Regions from separate parts of the Homo sapiens genome. Here regions 1, 2, 3, 5 and 6 are each linked to region 4. Evidence: promoter capture Hi-C in 16 types of primary human blood cells and fetal thymus (Javierre and others, 2016). All regions are on one chromosome and are shown on one strand. The core of a region is centred on a gene start or on the middle of the fragment in contact, and the rest is flanking DNA. Distances in the headings are between cores, read along the strand shown.

Evidence for each region. The method cuts DNA at HindIII sites, captures the fragments that hold promoters and counts their contacts. A CHiCAGO score of 5 or more calls a contact.
Region 1: a fragment that was not itself captured here is called in contact with the fragment with the promoter of MSMO1 in region 4 in 6 of 17 cell types (naive B cells, M0 macrophages, M2 macrophages and 3 more); the score reaches 10.8 in naive B cells.
Region 2: a contact is called between a fragment that was not itself captured here and the fragment with the promoter of MSMO1 in region 4, in 1 of 17 cell types (total B cells). The highest score is 8.4, in total B cells.
Region 3: a fragment that was not itself captured here is called in contact with the fragment with the promoter of MSMO1 in region 4 in 1 of 17 cell types (total B cells); the score reaches 7.0 in total B cells.
Region 5: a fragment that was not itself captured here is called in contact with the fragment with the promoter of MSMO1 in region 4 in 6 of 17 cell types (total B cells, naive B cells, M0 macrophages and 3 more); the score reaches 10.2 in total B cells.
Region 6: a fragment that was not itself captured here is called in contact with the fragment with the promoter of MSMO1 in region 4 in 4 of 17 cell types (non-activated CD4 T cells, activated CD4 T cells, total CD4 T cells and 1 more); the score reaches 7.9 in non-activated CD4 T cells.

What each region holds. Positions count from the first base shown.
Region 1 is chr4:163,614,326-163,617,025 of GRCh38, reverse strand. All of the region lies in intron 5 of MARCHF1 (membrane associated ring-CH-type finger 1), which reads left to right. Among named protein-coding and RNA genes, the nearest start is that of TMA16, 120 kb to the right of the region's middle. The HindIII fragment of the contact is 958 bases long and covers 784-1,741 here.
Region 2 is chr4:163,569,740-163,572,439 of GRCh38, reverse strand. All of the region lies in intron 8 of MARCHF1 (membrane associated ring-CH-type finger 1), which reads left to right. Among named protein-coding and RNA genes, the nearest start is that of TMA16, 76 kb to the right of the region's middle. The HindIII fragment of the contact is 8,468 bases long and covers 1-2,700 here.
Region 3 is chr4:163,699,667-163,702,366 of GRCh38, reverse strand. MARCHF1 (membrane associated ring-CH-type finger 1) reads left to right here. Exons shown (of 10, transcript NM_001394959.1): 5 at 1,504-1,554. Among named protein-coding and RNA genes, the nearest start is that of TMA16, 210 kb to the right of the region's middle. The HindIII fragment of the contact is 821 bases long and covers 875-1,695 here.
Region 4 is chr4:165,326,246-165,328,945 of GRCh38, reverse strand. MSMO1 (methylsterol monooxygenase 1) reads right to left here and starts at 1,277. Exons shown (of 6, transcript NM_006745.5): 1 at 1,182-1,277. RefSeq lists an enhancer at 979-1,248 and a silencer at 1,339-1,678. The HindIII fragment of the contact is 2,277 bases long and covers 445-2,700 here.
Region 5 is chr4:163,658,840-163,661,539 of GRCh38, reverse strand. The region is part of intron 5 of MARCHF1 (membrane associated ring-CH-type finger 1); the gene reads left to right. Among named protein-coding and RNA genes, the nearest start is that of TMA16, 170 kb to the right of the region's middle. The HindIII fragment of the contact is 5,960 bases long and covers 1-2,700 here.
Region 6 is chr4:163,680,142-163,682,841 of GRCh38, reverse strand. All of the region lies in intron 5 of MARCHF1 (membrane associated ring-CH-type finger 1), which reads left to right. All of the region lies in intron 1 of LOC107986325 (a long non-coding RNA gene), which reads right to left. Among named protein-coding and RNA genes, the nearest start is that of TMA16, 190 kb to the right of the region's middle. The HindIII fragment of the contact is 2,257 bases long and covers 290-2,546 here.

The sequences.
Region 1 (2,700 bases), core at 13-2,512, 1.7 Mb after region 4:
TTCATCTGCTGATGACCATTTAGATTGAGTCTATATCTATTGTGAATAATGCTACAATAATCATGGGGGTTCACATATCTCTTTGACGAACTGGTTTCCTTTTATTTGAATAAATACCCAGTATAGTGGGATTGCTGGATCATATGGTAGTAATATTTTTAGATTTTAGAGAAATTTCCCTACTGTTTTCCATAATGTCTGTACTAAATTACATTCCAACAATAGTATATATGAGTTTCAATTTCTTTTCATCCTCACACATTCTGGTGAATTTTATTTTGTTACTTTTGTGTGTGTGTGTGTGTGTTTTCAGAGACAGGGGTCTCACTATGTTGCCCAGGCTAGCTTCAAACACCTGGGCTCAAGGAAGCCTCCAGCACATCCTCCCAAGTAGCTCGGACTACAGGCATGCACCGCCATGCCCATTTGCTATATTTTTGATAATAGACATCCTAAGGAGAGTGAGATAACATCTCACTGTGGCTTTGATTTACAGTTCTCTAATTATAGTGATATTGAGCACTTTTTCATATATGTATTGGCCATTTGTCTGTCTTATTTTGAGAAATGTCTATTCAAATCATTTTCCCATTTTACAATCAGATTATTCTTATTACTGCTGTTAAGCTGTTTGGGTTCCTTGTATATTCTATATATTAGTTCCTCATTGGATGTATGGTTTGCAAATATTTTCTCCCATGCTACAGACTGTCTCTTCACTACGTTGATTGTTTTCTTTGTTGTGCAGAGGAAACAATCCTTTGCACAAGCAAGGAGAAAGCTTTGCTTTTTAGTTTGATGTAGTCTCATTTGTCTATTTTGTTTTTTGTTGTCTGTGCTTTTGAAGTCGTACCCACAAAAACTTTTCTAAAAGATCAATGTCCTGAAGCGATTTCTCCATGTTTTTCCTAATAGTCTTTTAGTTTTGGGTCTATATTTAAGTCTTTAATTCATTTTGAGTTGATTTTTATATATAGTGAAAGATAGAAGTCTAGTTTCATTCTTCTTCATATGGATATCCAGTTTACTAAGCATCATTAAGATGTCCTTTTTCCAATGTAAGTTCTTGGCATCTTTGTTGAAAATCAGTTGGCTATAAATACATGGATAATTTCTGAATTCCCTGTTGTGTTCCATGGGTCTATGTGTCTGTTTTTATAACAATGCCATGCTCTTTTGATTACTATGAATTTGTAGCACATTTTGAAGTCAAGTAGTGTGATGCTTCTAGCTTAGTTCTTTTTGCTCAACATTGCTTTGGTTATTTGGGCTCTTTTGTGGTTCTATGTGAATTTTGGGATTGTTTTTTCTATTTCTTCAAATAATTTGCTTGATATTTTGGTAGGGTTTGCACTGAAACTGTAGATTGCTTTGGACAGTATGGTCATTTCAACAATATTAATTCTTCCATTCCATCAGCACAGAATCTTTTCATTTTTTTTTATTCCTCTTCAATTTCTTTCATTACTGTTTTGTACTTTCCATTGTAGAGAGCTTTCACCTTCTTAGTTAAATTTATTCCTAAGTGGGGTTTTTTTGGTCATCATTATAAATGGGATTTCTCTTTTGATTTCTTTCTCATCTACTTTGTTTCACTGGGGTTTGGAAACACTATTGATTTTTGTATGTTGATGTGTATCCTGCAAATTTACTGCATCTGTTTATCAGTTCCAGGAGTTTTTTGGTGGTGTCTTTAGGTCTCTTAACAAATGGTTTCCTCTACCTTAAATATTTTTAAGCTTTTAAAATAATTCCTATTTGCCTTTTAAGATTAGCTGGATCGTTACCTCCTTATTAATTTCCTATAACTACTATCATAGGGATCACCCCACCTCCTGGGACCTAACCTGCTGCAACATGGCACCATTTTGAGAGCAGAGCCACCACCAGAATACATCACGTCCTGGGATCCAGTAGTCTCTGCATCTGCATTTCCCTGGGGCTTTGTCGTCTTATAGTTCTAGAGGTCAGAAGCCAAATAGAGATCCCACTGGGCTAAAATCAACATGTTAATAGGGCTGAATTCCTTCTGGAAACTCTAGAACTCATTTTCTAGCCTTTTTAAGCTTCCCCATGCCACCTTCCTCAGGGTTTCCCTTTTTTCACCTTGAAAGCCATCAGTGTAGTATCTTCCTCCTTTCTTACCTCTATTCATATTCTTCATCTTCTCTCTCTGACTAACTCTACTGCCTCCCTCTCATAAGGATCCTAATGGTTACATTGGGTTTACCAGTATAATTTGCATAAATCTCCTCAACTCAAGATGGTTAACTTAATCACATCTGCAAAGTCCCTTTTACCATAAAAGGTAAAATATTCACTATCCAAAGATTAGGATGTTGAGATATTTGGGGGGACCATTATTTAGCCTACTATACCTTCTCTTCAAATATGACCTGATCTCTTGAGTTAGAATTTGTTCCTTTTTCTCTGGATTTCAGAATCATGATTACATAGTTCCAATATGAGAATTTTTAGAATGACTTCGAAATTTGGGGTAATCTTTTTACCTTTACTGTTATTTTCTTGGTGACGAAATTGTGCATTTCATCTCTGCAGTCAAACAGGCCTGAATCTGGACCCAGATCTCCACCCATAGTGGAGCCAGATACCTGGTCCAGATCTCAGCGTTACCACCTATCAGTGAGAAGCAGCCCCAATTTTTCAGTTTCCTCAGCTGTAACATGTATGTAATTATAG
Region 2 (2,700 bases), core at 155-2,654, 1.8 Mb after region 4:
GTTTCTTCATCTGTAAAACAAGGAGACTGGTAGCATATCTTTAAAGTTTCTTCCAACTTAAAATCCTGTGATTTTGTGAAAAGCAAGTGAAGAATCAATTTATTTAAAAAAAAAAAAAAAGGAAGAAAGAGACCTAACATTCAAATGCATTTTAAACGTTCAGAAGAATTTTTAAAAGATATAAAGAAAATCCTTCATATCTACAGTAGCTTAAGTGATGAAGGATAGGATGCTGAATAAGAAGGGGAGTCCAAGACCTAAGCGATAAAGAAACAGCCTGTGTCTGAATCTTTCTCATTACCCTTCAAAGCAAACCATGGTGAGAAAAGCAAGAAGGACTCTCTATATATTTTTTTAAATTTAAAAAGTAGGATGAAAATAGTCAAGTTAGAACAGGGAAGAAAATAGAAGAGAGAAAACGAAAATGTTTGAGGGCAGTTAGCATTTAGGAAGCATCCTGAAAAGTGACTGGAAGCCAGATATAAGTACCTTCGCTACACTTACTTTTTTCCTTATAAGTTGTTGGCAAGTGAGTAAAGGCTAAAATAAAGCAAAAGCAAGTGACAGCAAAGCTCTTCTGCAGCCCTGAGGCATACATGAAAGACTTTTGACCCTAAGAAAAGAGGCTGGATGGGCTGAAAACCATTTTCAACTTGGCACAGTGAAAAAACAAACAAACAAACAAAAAACCCCAGTGTAGATTTGAAGTCTGAGCAAATCAGTTTAGTTAACCTAAGAAATATAACTCTGTTTTCTTAAAGGCTAGGTTTTCTGTAAATGTTAGTTCAATACAAAAACTGATATTTTGAAGGAGTATTTTTATCAATAAACAAAGTTAACAAATTTTGGAGCTAGATCCTTTTCTGTGTCTAGGAAATGAATTATTTCCCAAAAGATTGCTGAGAAGAGAGGACTCTGTTCATACAGAAGACCACACAACAGGCAGCTAGGTCTGAAAGACCACACTGAGAGGGCTCCAGTAACATCCACTTACGATTCATCATTTTTACCTTCATTCAGTAAACAAATATTTACTGAGCACCTGCCGTGTGGCCAGTCATTGTACCTGGCCTAAGATTTTAGTAGTGGACAAGACCAGAATCTTCTGACCTCAGAGAATTTACATTCTGGCAGGACAGAGATGGAGGGAGGGAGTTGGAAAATGAGTTAGTCAAAATAATTTGAAACAGACTTGAAAGTGGTATGGGGAATAATTCTAGTAATTCCAGACAGGTCCAATTCCAACTATTAAAGTATGACTCAAGGGAAATTTGTGGGAATTTTTAGCTGAAGAAATCTTCAATTTCAAAGCTGTCTCTCTGTTCCATTAGGGGAACAATTTAATGAAGAAAATTAAGATAAAAAGGTTGTTGACTGTAGGGAACCAGGGCTAGAAAGATGCATAAAGATTACCCTGTCCAAATTGGATGAGGAAAATTACTAACGGTATCTGTAGAGATCTGCTTAGTCCACAGACAATTTACTTTATATCAGGAACCAGATAGGTAATAAAAATGAATGAAGAGATCTTGTTTTATGATGAAAAATAGCAGATAACAGTACTGAGGGATATGGTAAGGAGTGGTGAGGTCTGTGGCATTCTGAAATAGATGTGCCTACTCTCAAGGGGGATGTCCCTACTAAGTTCTAGCTGATTGTTGCCAAAACTATTTTGCAAATGAAGTGAAAATCGCAGATTTAATCTCTTACCATTTTTAAAATAATAGTAACTAATTCAAATTCAAAAACTCTTCAGGCAAAACAAAAGAGGTCTGAAGGCTAGATTCCGTCCCCAGGCCAAGAATGTATAATCTCTGTGAGGTAGAAATGTTCGTATAACTCTGCAAATATTTTCCTAATGGGATACGGTAAAATACAGTGGAAAGAATCTAGATTTAGTGTGTGGAAGAACTGGATTCACCCTCCCCACCATGTAGTTGTTTGGTGGCTTTGGGTGAGTCCAGTAACCTAAGAGTTTTATTTCAAGAAAGGGAAAGGAGGTAGAAGGTTGGCAATAATACCTAGTTTTTCAACTTTTGGGGGTTCCGTTGAATAAAATGATGTCAGTAAAAGTATTTTGTAGAGTCCTAGAAAATAATGATATTATTGTCTCTCCCATCCCTCCATCATCAACACTGTAGCAGATTCACTGTTTTGTTCTTACCAAATCAGTATTTAGCATTGAATCCACTTTAAGGCCAACAAGAGGGTAGCGTGCACATTTTTAAAGAGCTGACTATTTCTCACTATTTCTCAGGCACTAGATGATTGTGGGGGTTCAATGCATTGATTAATTTGCATATCAGTCATTCAGAATGTATGGCCATCCAGATAAGGGTTATGCTGGCTTAAGTTTACAATCTAGATTATCTATAAAGACCTTGCTGAGCAAATTAATAAAGTAAGCACGATTGAGACAGAAAAACAGTTATACCAAAACCTCTTCAGGAGTTCATTTTAAAAAGTTAATAAAAACAAGTAGCCTTGTCTGACATATTTGAACAATATTTATCTTATGCCTACTTTCTAAAGAGTTGTACTAATTGCTCCAGGCGTTCATTTGCATAAGAATGCCTTATAAGAGTAATAAATAATTGTACAATTAATTACAGATAAGTAACTGTAATAAATCATTGTACAGATGCATTCAAATATTTACCTGAAAGACTTCTCTTACAAAGTAATCCAATAGCCTATAAT
Region 3 (2,700 bases), core at 36-2,535, 1.6 Mb after region 4:
AGAAGGAAAGATGGATTGATTTTGTTTTCTAGTCTCTAGAAGAGGAGTTGAGACGTCAGTAGAAAAGTGCCTCCCTCCATCACCAGTGGAGCTAATCAGGGAAAAATGTCTGTGGTAGCATATACATTAATCTCCAGCTGGAGCATGGGGCTGTTATGAGCTGTAACTAACCGTATCGTTGTGACTCATCTCGGTCTGTAATAACATGCTCCACAGTGACATCAGTGGTTGTATGAGATGGATGTTGCATGTAAAGGAAAAAGTACTGTTCAGCTGGAATATCTGTAAGCCTGCACATGACACAGTGACAGTTTGCAGTGAATGCAGCCACTGTTTTTCTGCAATAACACATCTGCCATATCCTGTCATCACTGTGTCTCTAAAACTGTCTCAAGTAGTCATCATGGGCAATTTCAGCCCCACGGGTTGTTATAACAACTTAGTTCTCAAAAATGACCTATGTCAAGATGCATTGCAGTTGCCTACTCAGGCCCACTTTGGGGCTGAGTCCAGAAGTTAAAAAAAAAACAAAAGGAATTCTTACATTGGTAAATTATTTCAATGACAATGTTATGTCAGATCCTTTATAAACTTTTAGTATTCAGAATTGATTGTTCCAACAACATTTTCTCTACAGAAGTAGAGGTGTCCTTTGATCTTTGATCTCTTTCTACATGTAGAATGCATAATGCTTATAAACTCTGATTTTTCCAGTTGATCATCTATCAGCACATAATTGGCAGAGTAGAAAAAGTAGCTATATAATTTTCAGGAACACAATGTCTCTGGGCTTCAAACGGGAGGGCCCAACTACTTAAGGTCCATTTCTACTTTAAAATTATATGACCTTTTAAAAAACATTTATTCAAAAGCTTTTTTCATGCCTCTTTTCTGCTAAATAAAAAAATTCTTTAAGAGGAAAGAACTGAGGATATAAATATTTATAAAAGTTTTAAGTTTTAATTGAAACATATACAGTCAGAAGCATCTTAAATTTTAAAAAGTAAATGTTTTAATTTCAGAGTATGTAAAATAACAAAAAATAAATAAAATGCAGTTTAGAAGAATACGAGGTGGATGTATATAGCATATACCCAGCACAGAATATTTAATGATATTGAAAACCAGAATTGACTCAAACTTTCCTAGTTGCAAGGGCAAGAGGGGAAATGGTAGACTACAGTTTTACTGTCTAATTTTAGTGCCGAAGAATTTCAAAAATTTTTCTGGAGAAATAATTATTTCCTGGAAACAAATACTTGTAACCTGATTAATACTCAGATATTAATTGAAGCATTTTTAAAGTACACTAATATATATTAGAGAAATATGATTTCATAAAAGAAAAAAGCATTCTGTGTAAGCAATTAATATGTGTATTAGTCAAAACAATATAGAGAGCATTCACAGATTTCCTTGTGCTGTGGTTTCTCTTCTCAGTGGTACAGTATGGTGAAAGTACCATACCTTCTTTTAATTAATGTTTCCCATTTTATTTTTCAGAATGAAAAATCCCCAGGGCGATCTGCAAGTCGATCAAGTAACATTTCAAAAGTAGGTGAAGTACTCATTTTCTTGTTTGTTGACTTCTGCACTTCATGAGTTCACATAAATGTTTATAATGTTTAACCTATAATTGTTATCTGTGAGCAGAACACAAATGTGATTTGTTCATGGTTTTAACTCTTTTAAGCTTTTACTGTAATAAGAAGACATGATTTTACGCAAGAAAATAAGTAGGCTATTTTTTCTTTTTCCATGCTGTGTGCAAGAGATAATTTCCTTCCTTCCTTCCTTCCTTCCTTCCTTCCTTCCTTCCTTCCTTCCTTCCTTCCTTCTTTCTTTCTTTCTATCTATCTTTTTAGACAGAGTCTTACTCTGTCGCCCCAGCTGGTATGCAGTGGTGAGATCTTGGCTCACTGCAACCTCCGCCTTCTGGGTTCAAGCGATTCTCCTGCCTCAGCCTCCTGAGTAGCTGGGATTACCGGTGCCCACCACCATGCCCAGCTAATTTTTGTATTTTTAGTAGAGATGGGGTTTCGCCATGTTGACCAGGCTAGTCTAGAACTCCTGAGCTCATGATCCACCCTCCTCAGCCTCCCAAAGTATTGGGATTACAGGAGTGAGCCACCATGTCTGGCCAATTTGCTACTGTCATAGTATTATGTAAAGTATGTTTTTTCTCTCATTTCAAACACCATAGATCTGCCACATATCCAAGTTGAAACTATATCAACATTCATGGTATAATTCTTATGAATTTAATTTTTCTGGACTTTGGGCTGAACTCTGGGGGAATTTAACTATTTTTGTCACCAAGGCAAGTTTTAGAAATCAATTTGATAAAAACATCAGTTTGGCCATATTTAGAGGTTGTAGAGTCAGTGGATTAAAAAAAAAAAACAAAATATTCCCTAGACTGTATATAAATCTAAGTAGGACCCCAGAGTGTTGAAAAGATTATCGTTTGAGAGACATACTCTAGATTTTATGTTGCCTGAAAAAACAAAATGTAAGAGCTATTCTTTAAAATGAGTCGCCATGTGATATATACACCTGGTGCTTGGGAAGTGAAAAGTAATTTAGAGTCATTTGTCAAAATGGAAAACAATGACTTTCAAAAATATAATTAGAAGCAAGATGGATTTGTCACCATTAGAGATTCCATTTCAAGGCTTCTCAATTGCCAGGACCCCTCCA
Region 4 (2,700 bases), core at 28-2,527:
ATGTGCTCCTCACAACCCCCGCCCAAATACTAGGCCTCCTTTAATGCCTAATTCTCAGACATAACGTTTTAAGTCTCTCCCATTCTGCTGCCTTAAGTCTTCAAACTCTTACCCAATTTAGAAACACTTGGTTTAGTTAACATTCAGGAATTTACTTTTCACAAAGGAGCGAGGGAATGGATATACTGTTGCTAACCGAACAAGGAATTAAAGAGGAGAGGGGAAACAAGGTCTTGGAAAATTGAATTTCCTTTTCCTTTACTCATTCTTGGGCAACCTAAATGACTGGAAGCCTGTTCTGGAACAGGTTGACTAGATAAATTTAGTTATTTGTGGATTCTCAGAAACCTTGAAGTTTAGCTGTCAGCCAGTCTCTGTCCTTTGGCACTTTAACACGGATTTCACCAGCTCCTTCATTTTCTGGACTTGCCCTGCCTCCAAGCTTGCCCTTCCTAAACCTTATTTCTAAGATGCAATGCCACGATCTATATAAATTTAAACATCAGAGATAACCTCCTTAAAACACTCAAAGTTCAAGGGAGTGCTTGCCCTAAGCATAAAGATCAAGCCCCGCTGTGATTGATGCACACGAGGCCCTTCCAGACTTCTTCACTCTTCATTTCTTACATTCTCGCCATCCTACACTTCACATTTTTGCAGTATCTGATCACTCATGGTTGCTACTGCTTCATTCCTCTCTGCCCACGGAAATATCGTTCCCTTACAGGTGATGTCCTCCCATTCAACTCCTAGTCATCCTTCAGTAACCTCCTCTCGGACGCCCTTCCCAACCCCACTACTCCCAAAGCACACTACATCTTACCTCCTTCTAGTGGTTCCTGCTTTTGTATAACTTTCGCCAGCCTATCACCCTGTGCTGCAACTATCTTCTACGTCCTGTCTCCCGAAGACAACACATTTTAAAGGGCAAGAAACATGCCCTAGCCTAGTTCCATCACTTAAGAATTTCACTCCGTTTTCATCCTTTCTAGCACGTACCTTAGCCTAGGCCCACCTTCACTCCAGTCTCCTTCCGCCCCGTCTCGGGTACCACTGCCAGCGTCCCGCCCAGCGCGTGCATCCGCACCCAGAACCCGCTCCCCTCGATCTCACGGAGCACCGGGTGGGAGCCCGCCTGCTCCCCCTTCCTCGCTCATGAGCCACTCCTCCAACCCCCTCACCTGAACGGCCGCGAGATGACTGCCGGCCACCGACACCGAGGACTCGCCAGGTGTTCCAACCTCGGAACCTGCCTCGCCTGGCTTGGGGGTGGAGCCGGGTGGGCCAGGCGGCCCGTCCTGTCGTTATTGGCCTGCGAGAGCTCCCGCCCCGCCTTCTCGGCGCGGTGATTGGTCTGTGCAGTTGCCGACATCGTGTGACTCGCGCGAACGAGCTCCTGGCGGTCCCAGCCATTGGCTCCGCGGATGGAGTGAGGATAGTGAGACCTGCAGAGCCAGCCAATGGTCGGCACCGCGGAGCGCCCGGAGGCGGGGAAGCGTGAGAGCGCGCCACGGCGTGAGGGGGCGGGCACAGACGGATGGCCGCCTCGCCCTGCAGCGCGGAGTCGCCTTGGCAACTGCGGTCCCGGCAGATTCCCAGTGAGAGCCTGCGCTGTGCGGGGGAGAGTGTCGCGCCGGCCGCCGTCCCAGGACTTTTATTTCAAATGTGACCTGTGTAGCAACCGCAGTTCCCAAACCCGGGAAGAAGAGAGTATAGATGAGTCTTAAAATCTATGTTGACTGTTTTGTGTTTCCAGACACCCTTGCCTTCCTTTTTCTGGTCTACCATTTAGATTTAGATCTTTCGTCTCCCTTGTTTCCCCAGCCTACGTATCCTTTAATAAATTCCTGCATTTTGAAAACGGAGAATTTCAAATGCGATTATCGTCATTTTGCAGATGAGAAATAAAGGCTGGGAAAGATTTAAAAAGATTGAACATCAAGGGAGAGTTCGGCTCCCAGGACCTTGACCTCGCTACATGGGCAGAGAACGCCCAGGTGTTGTTGCAATTGTTGTGCTGGACGATGAGTGCCCGGGGGCGGGGGCGGGGGCGGGGGCTTGACGCAGGTCTTTGCAGCTCTAAAGCTCAGTTTACACCATCTCTCAACATTAAAATATTGTGTACTGGGGTTTAATAATAAAACTGTACAGATGTGATAATATACTAAAACTTTCACTTAACGGAAGAGGTGCCTTTAAAGAAAAAACCGCACAGGGGCATCATTTGGGCTAGTGAAGGCCCTTTTTCCTCCTTCTTTATTAAGGTATAATTGACAAAAATTGTGTTTACGGCGTACACATGTTTTGATTATGTGTATATTGTGTCAAATATATACAGCTTCTGAAAACAGAATACTATTGTTTCATTCCTCCATGCTTTTGCTCAAACTGGCCCTTCTGCCTGGAATAATCAGCCATCTCCATGCCGCCCCATCAATTCAGGTACTATCTCCTTGAGGAAGTTCCCTCTTGAAAAGTGTCTTTTTTAGATTCAGTGTGACCTGTACTTATTCGTCTATCCCTCATGTTTGGCACACACATTCTTTGTAAAGTATCATGACAGCGGTCACGTCAAATGAAAAGAAATGGGATCTGTCCCTTGGTTGTCAGAGTCAGCCCTGTCTTTAGGATGCCTTTACAGTGGTGTCTGAAACCATGCCTATATACTTTATGAAGTTAATCTGGGAAAAAGGGGTGGGG
Region 5 (2,700 bases), core at 133-2,632, 1.7 Mb after region 4:
AAAAAAAGAAAAGCATCTAGAAAAATGAAGATACTGGATTCAGGAAAAAGGGCTTCCAAAATAGGAGAGACACAAAGGGAATCCCCAGAATGATGGCAAAGAAAGTTGTCAGGGCAAAGCAACAGCTTGAAATCATGCCTAAAAAGCCAAAATTTCAGATCACAGAAGAACAGAAGGCTCCAGAGGAAAGTACTATGAAAAACAAAATAAAATTAATAGATTTTCTGATGTATTCGAGTGTGGAGAGAAAATATAACTTCTAGCAAGATGAGGGATGAATTTCAGGGAAGATCATAGAAAATTAAGCAAAAAGCAAAAAGACAGCTAGTAGCAAAAAGTTAGCATAGCAGGTGACTTAATATTCGTGTAGCCAAATTATTATACAATCTTATTTGGAGAACAGAAGAAAGAGATGGATGGGCAAGGGAGGAGTTCAGGAAGAATCAGAAAGACAACTAAATTTCCACAGTAACAAGTCAATAAACAGCATCCAATTAAATAAATAGTGATAATACAACCAAGATTATCAAATTTTTAGGAATACAAAGTGTAAATACCTAAAGAAATATAATACCTCAATGAGCTGAAGGTGATGTGTCTACAGAGGAAGAATCAGAGTGAAAATTATAACCTAGGTCTACTTTGAATTACATAATAGATGAGAAAGAATGGGGAAACATGAGTCAGAGAAAAATGGGAATTTTTTTGAATTTGGATTCTTTAATAGGCTCAAAATAAGTGTCATACAGAGTGTTTATTCACAGGCTTGAATGAGAATTGAAGAAATTCTGACAAGTTTAATATCCGTCTGTGATTAAGTCTGGCAGAATACAGGTCATTGAAACAGACATTTTAATTGAGTTTTATAAAACTATACAAATCTTCCAAGTGATCATAAACCAGTTTCTCATTACATGTGCTTTAACGCAACTTTTTGAAAGTCAAACAATTACAGTTTTTTTTTTTTAAGTTTTACTTTAAGTTCTGGGATACATGTGCAGAATGTGCAGGTTTGTTACATAGGTATACATATGCCATGGTGGACTGCTGCATCTATCCACCCGTCATCTATGTTTTAAGCTCCTCATGCATTAGGTCTTTGTCCTAATGCTCTCCCTCCCCTTGACCCCCACCCACCGACAGGCCCCGGTGTGTGACATTCCTCTCCTTGTGTCCATGTGTTCTCATTGTTCAACTCCCACTTATGAATGAGAACATGCAGTGTTTGGTTTTCTGTTCCTGTGTCAGTTTGCTGAGAATAATGGCTTCCACCTTCATCCATGTCCCTGCAAAGGACTTGAACTCATTATTTTTTATGGCTGCATAGTATTCCTTCATATATATGTGCCACATTTTCTTTATCCAGTCTATCATTAATGGGCATTTGGGTTGGTTCCAAGTCTTTACTATTGTAAATAGTGTTGCAGTAAACGTACATGTACATGTGTCTTTATAGTAGAATGATTTATAATTCTTTGGGTATATACCCAGTAATGAGATTGCTGTGTCAAATGGTATTTCTGGTTCTAAATCCTTGAGGAAACGCCTCACTGTCTTCCACAATGGTTGAACTAATTTACAGTCCCACTAACAGTGTAAAAGCATTCCTATTTCTCCACATCCTCTCCAGCAGCTGTTGTTGTTTCCCAACTTTTTAATAGTCGCCATTCTGACTGGTGCGAGATGGTATCTCATTGTGCTTTTGATTTGCATTTCTCAAATGACCAGTGATGGTCAGCTTTTTTCCGTATGTTTGTTGGCTGCATAAATGTCTTCTTTTGAGAAGTGTCTGTTCATATCCTTTGCCCACTTTTTGATGGGGTTTTTTTTTTCTTGTAAATTTGTTTAAATTCCTTGTAGACTCTGGATATTAGACCTTTGTCAGATGGGTAGATTGCAAAAATTCTCTCCCATTCTGTAGGTTGCCTGTTCAGTCTCATGATAGTTTCCTTTGCTGTGCAGAAGCTCTTTAGTTTAATTAGATCCCATTTGTCAATTTTGGCTTTTGTTGCAATTGCTTTTGGTGTTTTGGTCATGAAGTCTTTGCCCATGCCTATGTCCTGAATGGTACTGCCTCGGTTTTCTTCTAGGGTTTTAACGGTTTCAGATTTTACATTTAAGTCTTTAATCCATCTTGAATTAATTTTTGTATAAGGTGTAAGGAAGGGGTCCAGTTTCTGTTTTCTGCATATGGCTAGCCAGTTTCCCCAGCACCATTTATTAAATAGGGAATCCTTTCCCCATTGCTTGTTTTTGTGAGGTTTGTCAAAGATCAGATGTATACTTTTAAGATAACAGTGTTTAATGAAATTCATGAAAATCATGAATCCTTAGATTTAGGAACATTTATACCTTCTGAGTAAAAATCTAGACTAGAGAAATGTAGTGAATGCAATACACAAAAGACAATGAGGAAGAGCAGAACAAGAAAGATGGCTGACTCTAAATAAACTAATACCATATTTTTCAATGAAAACAATAAAATCCAGAGAACAACAGCATACTATTATGAAAAGATTTTATAAATTGTTAATATAAAATGATATATCCAGCTAAATCATTTTTTTTTCTTTTCTTGATCCTTTTTATTTTAAGTTCCAGGGTACATGTGCAGGATGTGCATGTTTGTTACATAGGTAAACATGTGCCATAGTGGTTTGCTGCACCTATCAACCCATCACCTAGGTATTAAGCCCAGCA
Region 6 (2,700 bases), core at 169-2,668, 1.6 Mb after region 4:
TGGCTTGGGAGGCCTCAGGAAACTTACGGTTATAGCAGAAGGGGAGGCAAACATGTCCTTCTTCACATGGCAGCAGGAACAGAACTGCTGAGCAAAGGGGGAAAAGCCCCTTATAAAACAATCAGATGTCATGAGAACTCACTATTATGAGAACAGCAGCATGGGGGTAACCACCCCCATGATTCAATTACCTCCCACTGGGTCCCTTCCACAGCATGTGAGGATTATGGGAACTAATCTGGCCCAAGCTGTACCTTGGCCCCTTTTAACCATGGCTGAACCTGAAGCTTAAGCAGCTGGAATGCAGGGCACCACGTCTCGAGGCTGCACAGAGCAGGGGGTCCCTGGGCCCGCGGCACTAAACCATTTCTCCCCCCAGGCCTCTAGGCCTGTGATGGGAGGTGCTGCCACAAAGGTCTCTGCCGTGCCCTAGAGACATTTTCCCCATTGTCTCTTGGTGATTAACATTCGGCCCCTCATTACTTATGCAAATTTCTGCAGCTGGCTTGAATTTCTCCCCAGAAAATGGGTTTTTCCTTTTCTATCACATTGTCAGGCTGCAAATTTTCCAAACTTTCATGCTCTGTTTCCTCTCGAATACTTTGCTGCTTAGAAATGTCTTCCACCAGACACCCTAAATGATCTCTCTCAAGTTCAAAGTTTCACTATCTCTAGGGCAAGGGCAAAATGCTGCCAGTCTCTTGGTTAGAGCATAGTAAGAACAACTTTTATAGTTCCCAACAAGTTCCTCATCTCCATCTGAGACCAGCTCAGCCTGGATTTCATTGTCCATATCACTATCAGCATTTTTGTAAAAGCTGTTCAACAAGTTAAGAAGTTCTAAAGTTTCCCACATCTTCCTGTCTTTTGAGCCCTCCAAGTCTCTAGGAAGTTCCAAACTTTCCCACATTTTCCTGTCTTCTGAGTCCTTCAAACTATTCCAGCCTCTGCCTATTACCCAGTTCCAAAGTTGCTTCCACATTTTCTGGTATCCTTACAGCAACACCCCACTCTACTGCTACCAATTTACTGTATTAGTCTGTTCTCACACTGCTATGAAGAAGTACCTGAGACTGGGTAACTTATAAAGGAAAGAGGTTTAATTGACTCACAGTTCAGCATGGCTGGGCAAGCCTCAGGAAACTTACAATCATGGTGGAAGAAGCAGCAAACACATCCTTCTTCACATGGCAGTAGGAAGAGAAGTGCCAAGCAAAAGGGGAAAAGCCCCTTATAAAACCATCAGGTCTCATGAGTACTCACTATCATGAGAACAGCAGCATGGGGGTAACCACCCCCCATAATTCAGTTACCTGAATTATATGTCATGGGTGCTTCCCATGACATATGGGGATTATGGGAACTACAATTCAAGATGAGATTTGAGGGGAACATAACCAAACTATATCAGCCTATGATGTGACTATCACCCCTAGGGGGCAGTATACTACCTGTGTAACTGTACATGCCAGTTCTGAAAACTCTGCTCAAGGTTTTCCTAAAGAGCTTCCCTTACTTGGCTTGAGATAGATGGAAACATTCTCCCAACCACACGTTATAGCCCTTTTTTTCTATCAATCTTTCTTTCTTTATATAGCCTGAAAATGGTTAATGGTATAAAAAAGTCGGAAAACTAGTCAGGAAAAGGGAGATATCTTAGCAATTCCCATATGCATGTGATAGCACAGCCCTTTAAAATATGGAGATACTGTTTACCGATGCTGTTCGCAAATAAGTTAGTTCCCTTTAATATCTGGTTAGCATTCATCTAATGAGCACCTAATGCACCATATTTATTACATATAAATAATATTTAATATATTTATTAAATATGTTAATATTACATAATGTATTACATATATTATTAGGTACTCAATAATATATATGTGTGTATGTATGTATGTATTAGACACAGTGCTAGGCAACTAGAAATACAATGATGAGCCATACAATTTACAGTGTAATGAGTCATTCAAGCAATAATAAATTATAGAAATACATAATGGTAAACTTCAATAAGTGTTGTGAAAGTGTTTTAAGTCATAGTGAAGCATCATGTAACACAAGTCTGGATTAAAAATGAAGATACAGGATTTATCCCTTAGAAGTGGTGGTTCTAAATATAAGAAATGATATTCCAGGGAGAATATGTAGAAAAAAAGTTTAGAAGTCTAAAGATAGAATGGCAAGAAACACTCCTAGTTCCACAGAGGAAGGATGACAAGGAGCCTGGAAGAATTCAGATGTGGCAAGAGACAGATGAGCAAATCTAGAGAGTGACGACCCACAGAACACCAAAGAGAGTATGTTTCAACAAGAGCTGGTGTTCCAGGGAGCAGATTCCCCAAAGAGCTTAGGGAGGAGTAATACTGAGAAAGATTATTAGGTTTGACAAAGACACAAGTACTAGTTACCTATAACTTCAAAGAAATAGTCCTGAATGTTTTTAAAAGACACAAGGAAGATATTATAGTGTCACAAACAAGAGGGATCCAAATTGGACTGTGGTATCTCAAAAGGCTTTCTGGGTAGGTTAAGCGTAAGCTTAGTTTTAAAAAATAAATTAATATTAGATTTAAAACAAGAAATGTAGCAAAGCTATAGAGAAACAAAAGAGCATGATATTCTGGAACTGCTGGTAGTTGGATCAAACGGTTGCATCTGGAAAAGTGACAGAGAGGGAAACCTGAAATAAGTATA